2 separate regions of the Homo sapiens genome follow, and region 1 is linked to region 2. Evidence: promoter capture Hi-C in 16 types of primary human blood cells and fetal thymus (Javierre and others, 2016). All regions are on one chromosome and are shown on one strand. Each heading gives the region's core, a stretch centred on a gene start or on the middle of the fragment in contact. The rest is flanking DNA. Distances are from core to core; before and after follow the strand shown.

Region 1 (3,896 bases), core at 868-3,367, 280 kb after region 2:
GATTTGTTGAATGGCTTTGACAAAAATGCTGATGATGATATGAACAGTAAGGTCCAGGCTGAGTTGGTTGCAGATGGAGATGAGGAACTTATTGGAAACTGGAGCAAAAGTGACTCTCGTTAGGTTTTAGCAAAGAGACTGGCGGAATTTTGCCCCTGCCCTAGAGATTTGTGGGACTTTGAACTTGAGACAGATGATTTAGAGTATCTTGCAGAATAAATTTCTAAGCAGCATAGCATTCTACAGATGACTTGGATGCTGTTAGAAGCATTCAGTTTTAAAAGGGAAACAGAGCTTAAAAGTTTGAAAAATTTGCAGCCTAACAATGCAATAGAAAAGAAAATCTCATTTTCTGAGGAGAAATTCAAGCCAGCTGCAGAAATTTGCATAAGTAACGAGAAGCCAAATATTAATCTCCAAGACAATGGGGAGAATGTCTCCAGGGCATGTCAGAGACCTTTGCAGGAGCTTCTCCCATCACAGACCTGGAGGTTTAGGAGGAAAAAAATGGTTTCATGGGCAGGGCCCAGGGTCCCTGTGCTACGTGTAGTCTAGGGACTTGGTGCCCTGCGTCCCAGCTGCTCCAGTCATGGCTGAAATGGCCAACACAGAGCTCGAGCCATGTCTTCAGAGGGTGCAAGCCCCAAGCATTAGCAGCCTCCACATGCTGCTGAGCCTGCAGGTTCACAGAAGTCAAGAATTGGGGTTTGGGAACCTCCGCCTAGATTTCAGAAGATGTATGGGAATGCCTGAATGGCCAGGCAGAAGTTTGCTGCAGGGACAGGGCTCTCATGGAGAACCTCTGCTAGGACAGTGCAGAAGGGAAATGTGGGGTTGGCTCTCTGCGTGGGGTTGGGCCCTCTTGCATCAGTGTGACCTGGATGTGAGACCTGGAGTCAAAGGAGATTATTTTGGAGCTTTAAAATTTGACTGCCCCACTGGATTTTGGACTTGCATGGGCCCTGTAACTGTTTTGTTTTGGCCAATTTCTCCCATTTGGAACAACTGTATTTACCCAATACCTGTACCCCCATTGTATCTAGGAAGTAACTAGCTTGCTTTTGATTTTACAGGCTCATAGGCAGAAGGGACTTGTCTTGTCTCAGATGAGACTTTTTACTGTGGACTTCTGGGTTAATGCTAAAATGAGTTAAGACTTTGGGGGACTGTTGGGAAGGCGTGATTAGTTTTGAAATGTGAGGACATGAGATTTGGAGGGGCCAGGGGTGGAATGATATGGTTTGGCTCTGTGTCCCCACCCAAATCTCATCTTGAATTGTAATCCCATAATTCCCACATGCGGTGAGAGGGACCCAGTGGAAGATAATTTGAATCATGGGGGCAGTTTCTCCCATACTGTTCTTGTGGTAGGTTAATAAGTCTCATGAGATCTGATGGTTTTATCAGGATTTCCCCTTTTACATCTTTGTCATTTTTCTCTTGCCGCCACCATGTAAGAAGTGCCTTTTATCCCTCGCCATGATTCTGAGGCCTCCCCAGCCATGTGGAACTGTAAGTTCCTAATTAAACCTCTTTTTCTTCCCAGTCTCAGGTATGTCTTTATCAGCAGCATGAAAATGGACTAATACAATAGCCCAATTTAAAAATGGGCAAAGGAAGTGAATAGATAGTTCTCCAAAAAGGATATACAAATGGTCAATAAGCACTTGAAAAGATGATCAACATTATTAGCCACCAGGGAAATGAAAATCAAAACCACCAGATGTCATTTCACACCCAATAAGATGACTACCTGAAAAAAGATAGACAATAACAAATGTTAGCAAGAATGTGGAGATATTCAAATTCTCATATATTGCTCATGGGACTGTAAAATGGTGGTAGCCACTTTGGAAAATAGTCTGACAGTTTCTCAAAGGGTTAAACAGAGTTACCACATGATCCAGCAATTCCACTCCTAGGTATATACCCAAGAAAAATAAAAACGTATCTACACAAAAACGCACACACAAATGTTCATAGCAGCAGTATTCATAATAGCATAAAAGAGAAACCACCCAAATGTCCATCAATTGATGAACGGATAAACAAAATGTAGTATATTTATACAATGAAATATTGTTTAATAATAAAAAGAAATGAAGTAATGATACATGCCACTACATGCATAAACCTTGAAAACACGTTAAGTGAAAAACCTATCACAAAGGACCACATATTCCATGATTTCATTTATATGAATTTTCAAGAGTGGGAAAATTACAGAAAGTAGATTGGCAGTTGCCTGATGCTGGAGAGGAAAAGGAGATTGTAGGGTGATGGCTAGGGAATGTGGGTTTTTTGGAGGGGGTAATGACAATGTACTAAAATTGTGTTGATGGATGCATAACTCTGTGAATATACTAAAAACCCTTGAATTGTACACTTTAAGTGGGTGAATCATATGGCATGTGAATTATATCTTTAAAAACCATAATAAATTTACTTGTGATGGTCATTCAGGAATATTTTACTTTGCACACAGAAGCACAGGGGCATGTGATGATGCCGAGACAAAATCTTAGGTCAGACATAAATATGAAAACTGCAAGTCTCTAAAGCCTCATGTAGCTGCTCCTCAGAAACATATTTAAGACATAATTGGTTTCAAAAACAAGAAAGTTAGTGAACAAACAAAAGAAAAGCATATAAAGTAGTAAAACTGCTGCAAAGATTACCTTGATGATATTAAAGACATAAGTTCATGGGAATAAGTCACTGCCATAGGCAAAGAGAACTTACTTTCAGGTTCTCTTTGCTACAGTGAGCAGAGAGAAAAATGAATCAATGTTCTTGTGCCATAAATGAAGTATGGATAAACTTAGACACTTTTTAGCTTCTTTAACCAGGCTTAAAATGACAAAAAGCAATATATAGTCAAAACATTACTTCTGGAGAAGCCCTACTCTTGAATTTATCTTTGGAAATTAAGAATTGCCAAGGAATATTGCCATTTGGGGGTAGGCATGCAATATTGTAATAATTAATTTCTTTTGAAAAATATCCATTTTTACTTAGAAGAACCATTCAGTAATTCAAGGCAGAAATTTCTTTTTAATATTTAATTTTAATTTTTGTGGGTACATAGTAAGTGTATACAATTATGGGGTACATGAGATGTTTTAATGCAGGCATGCAATGTTTAATAATCACATCATGTAAAATGGGGTATCCATCCCCTCAAGAATTTATCCTTTGTGTTATAAACAATCCAATTATATTCTTTTTATTATTTTTAATGTACTATCGAGTTATTATTGACTATAAAAAGTGACCCTATTGTGCTATCGATTACTAGGTCTAACTCTTTCTATTTTTTCTGTACCCATTAACCATTGTCCCCAGCCCCCCACTACTTTTCCCAGCCTCTGGTAACCATCCTTCTACTCTCTATGTCCGTGAATTCAATTGTTTTGATTCTTAGATCCCACAAATAAATCAGAACATGTGAAGTTTGTCTTTTCTGTGCCTGGCTTATTTCACTTGGCATAATGACCTCCAGTTCCATCCATGTTGTGGCAAATGACAGGATCCCATTCTTTTTATGACTCAGTAGTACTCCATTGTGTATAAGCACCACACTTTATCCATTCATCTGTTGATGGACACTTACATTGCTTTTAAATTTGGGCTATTGTGAACAGTGCTGCAACAAATATGGGAGTGCAGATATCTCTTCGATATACTGTTTTCCTTTCTTTTGGGTATATACCCAGCAGTGGGATTTCTGGATCATATGGTAGCTCAATTTTTGGTTTTTTGAGGAACCTTCAAACTGTTTTCCATAGTGGTTGTACTAATTTACATTCCCACCAATAGTGTACAAGGGTTTCCTTTTCTTCACCTCTTCGACAGCATTTGTTACTGTCAAGGCAAAAATTTCAAGGAATGTTGTG
Region 2 (3,801 bases), core at 1,268-3,767:
GTTAGCTGCCCTGGGAGTATAAAACTGACAAAGATTTTTTAAGCAGGGAAATTCTTCAAAATGCACATTGCCTTACATCTGGTAACTTCAATTTTTGAAATGTATCTAAAAGGTGTAGTCATGCTTGTGTGGAATCATATGTAATCATTCACTGCAGTGTTGTTTATAACAGTATAACTTTATCATAATAATTAAATAAGTAACGGTATTTTCATTTGGTGCAATACAGAGCAGCTAGTTAAAATTACATTGCAGGAAAAAAAGTGACTGATTTATAGTAAATTGTTCATACTACGTTTGATGTGATGAAAGCAGGCTATAAACCAACAAACCAAATGTAATAGCATTTTGATAAACAGCCACAGGGAAAATAAGTCAATAAAGACATTCAACAAATTGTTTATGATGATTATACTTGAGAGATGGAATTATAGGTGCTTTTTGTCCTCTACATTTCTGTGTTTTTCAGATTTTCCACATTGCATATGTGCAATTATATACTTTTTATATTATCAAATAAAAATTACATATTTACAAACAGATAAAACACTAAAAAACGAAGTCACTAAGCCTCTAACTTTACTTTTCTTTAGAAAACCAGTTGGAAAGCAGTCATCAGAGTAAAAGTTTCCACAGCATCTGCCATTTAACAGTTTCTAAGCCTTTTTGGAGTCCTTTTGAAATTGGAGATATTGGCAAAAAACAAAGCCCCCAAATCCAATGCTTGCAGGTAAAAGATGCAAAAGAATGTTGCCCTGATGCTGACAATAAGCAAATGACCCACTTCAAGCACAGACAATGGAGGTGGAGCATGGATTTGAGCAAGATATCCTGGAACCGAGAGCTGTAACTACTCTAGGTCCTGCTAGTCATCATTCAAAGGTCAGTCCATACCAGCAGCCACATACCAGAGAGTTATGGAGCCAACATGATGATCGAATTAATATCTGCAAGTAATACTAAGTCACATCTGTCCTTACATAAGATTGTAAAATCTTTGATTGTGATCCAATAAAACCATTTGCTCAAATAATGATAAATCTGATAGTTCCTGGTCTCCGCACACCACAGATTAAATAGATAAACTGCCTAATATTTTTTCTTTTTTTTTTTTGAATCAGGCTGGAGTGCAGTGGTGCAATCTTGGCTCTCTGCAGCCTCGACTTCCCAGGCTCAAGTGATCCTCCCACCTCAGCCTCCCGAGTAGCTGGGACTATAGGCATGCCCCACAATGCCGGGCTAATTTTTTTTTTTTTTTTTGCAGAGACAGGGTTTTGCCATGTTGTCCAGGCTGGTCTTGAACTCCTGGGCTCAAGTGATCCACCAGCCTTGGTCTCCCAAAGTGCTGAGATTACAGGCGTGAGTCACTGCACCTGGCCTGCCTCACCTTTTGAACATATAGGATCTTACTTAAAGTGCTATGACAAACATGCAACCTGAACATCTAGAGTCATTCTGTTTGTCTGGCGTTTGAACACGAAAGATACTAGAAATTAACTCTGCCTGCTGAACTTTTTGCAGGAATCAGATTGAATTTCTTTTGAGGGCTCTCAGGTTTACACTTGTAAAATAACCTATTATGTTTAAAAATTATGAATAGTTGCTTTACATAGGAAACCAGTAAAATAACAATGATCCTTAAAAATCTGTGTGTGTGTGTGTGTGTGTGTGTGTGTAAATGTACTTCATATTTCCACAGCATCTGTCATTTAACAGTTTCTAAGCCTTTTTGGTGTCCTTTTGAAATTGGAGATATTGGATAAAACAAAGCCCCCAAATCCAATTCAGTAGATAATGACTAAATTATTATTTATCTCCTCTGTTTTGTTTCATTATGTTCATTTTCAAACTTTGATGTCTACCAGTTTCTTCTGTGGAGCTTATAAAAAATATAAATACCCGAAGTGTATGCATGGCCTACTAAATCAGAGTCTCACAGTTGATGGTACCTGGGTTTAGCAGAATACATAGGTGGTCCTGGTGCACCCTGAAGCGCGAAACGCTGCTCTGGGTGAAAAAAAGTGCTAGCAGGGAAATGTGTTAGCAAAATAACAAGGAAAAGAAAGTTAACAAATCTCAAATTGGAAAAGAAAAATCTTAAAAAGAAAGACGTGAATAATGGCGTTCAGTCTTGGTTGGTGTCATTTCTCACAGGCCAATTACCTACAGTCTGGGTGGACTAGAGAATAGAGATTAACATCAGTCAAATCCCGTGGTTAAAGCGTTAACTAGAATGTCCATTCATTTCTCAAGAAGTGTGGCAGAGAGCAAAGGAGTGTACCTATCAGCTGTTCCTAAGAAAGTAAACACTCCCAACATGCACTGAGGCACAGGGAGTGGCTCAGGTTTCTTGACACTTCCCTGCTGTGGCGAAAAGGAGAAATAATTAACAGCTCCTGGGGCTCCAGGATCGCTGATCGCGTCGGGGGCACTGCAAGCGCCCAGCTGAGCCATGCTCTGGGAGGAGACAGGCGCCGCCCCTGCGCCCGCGCGGGCCTCGGACCTCCCCTACAGGTGAGTGACTCGCGGAGTCCCAGCCCGGCAGAGACAGGGCACTGGTTTCCCTCTACCAGAGTTCCTGACCCAGCCGAGAACAAACCGCGAAGCAAGTTCAGCCGAACAACGATGGTGAAAAGGGTCCTCCTGCTCACAGTGTGAATAACAGGTAAAAAATGGGGATGGGGAAAAAAACTTTCTAATCCACTCCCTGGGGTCATGTTGAGGGCAAGTTATTAGAAAGCAGAATCCATAGGCAACAAAGTTAAGTGTGTGTGTGTCATAGCAGCCTGAATCGCACACATGCCTTTTCCTTTTGATTTTCTCAGAATATGCTTTCCTAACCAAGGTAAGCTTGTAGGGTGGGAGGGAGAGAGGGGAAAGAAGGGAGGGAAAGGGTGCAGAGAAGGGCTTGGAGGTAAATGTGACCATAGGACCCCTCCTCCCTTTAGTTCAATGAGCCCTTCACCTGTAATTGTGCCTGGCAAAAATCGTGCCTTACAAAGATACTAGACTTCTGGATGGCATACTCCTTCCTCTGAGTATCCTTATGGTTAGAATATTGTGTTGAATCATCGCACTGGAAAGAACTTAATTGAGGGTTCAGCTCAACTTTTATTTGTTTCTGCAAAGTGACAGAAAGCATGCCCCCCACCAAAAAAAAAATGAATTTTCAATATAAGCGCTCACCAAACAATGAAATAATAAACATAAATAATTAAATGGGAGTGCATGAGTTAAGGATATGAATTCTGAAGCAGAAGAGTGGTAGGTTCAAAGCTCGGCTTTGCCACTTATTAGTTTGCCCCCTCTCAAGTTTCTTAACCTAAGCCCCAAACGTTTGTCTGTAAAACAAGCATCATCAAAGGATCTGCCACATAAGGCTTTCTTTGATGGGAACTGAACAGTCAGCAAGTGTTCTGTAAGTGATACCTACTGTTAGCATTAAGAATAAGCTGCTCTGCCAAAGGGGCCGTTATCAGGGAGGGCAAGCTGAACTAGGGAGACCAGACAGTGTGTATTAGGATGCTGGAATTGAACTGGTTCCCGGAGACTGGATCCAGGACAGGCAAGCAGGTGACAGGTGTGCTAGGATCATCTCTCTGGGTAGCAACGAAATGACCTGGCTTCTTTCCATTTTTCAGATAGAGTATGTGGTGGCAAATTCAGACATATTTGCTACTCAATCAGTTTTCTTTTGAAAAATTCACATTTACATTAATCTGTTATTCCTAAAAAGAAAATAGAATTTTAGAGTAAGAGAGTTACACACAATCTCATATTGTGGAATTCATGCCATTTGGG

The links. The method cuts DNA at HindIII sites, captures the fragments that hold promoters and counts their contacts. A CHiCAGO score of 5 or more calls a contact.
Region 1: a fragment that was not itself captured here is called in contact with the fragment with the promoter of RASSF6 in region 2 in 1 of 17 cell types (megakaryocytes); the score reaches 5.9 in megakaryocytes.

What each region holds. Positions count from the first base shown.
Region 1 is chr4:73,336,317-73,340,212 of GRCh38, reverse strand. The region is part of intron 3 of ANKRD17-DT (ANKRD17 divergent transcript); the gene reads right to left. Among named protein-coding and RNA genes, the nearest start is that of ALB, 66 kb to the left of the region's middle. RefSeq lists enhancers at 126-625, 626-1,127. The HindIII fragment of the contact is 6,759 bases long and covers 1-3,896 here.
Region 2 is chr4:73,619,152-73,622,952 of GRCh38, reverse strand. It overlaps RASSF6 (Ras association domain family member 6), which reads left to right and starts at 2,517. Exons shown (of 11, transcript NM_177532.5): 1 at 2,517-2,665. RefSeq lists enhancers at 1,945-2,493, 2,494-3,043. The HindIII fragment of the contact is 3,198 bases long and covers 1-2,852 here.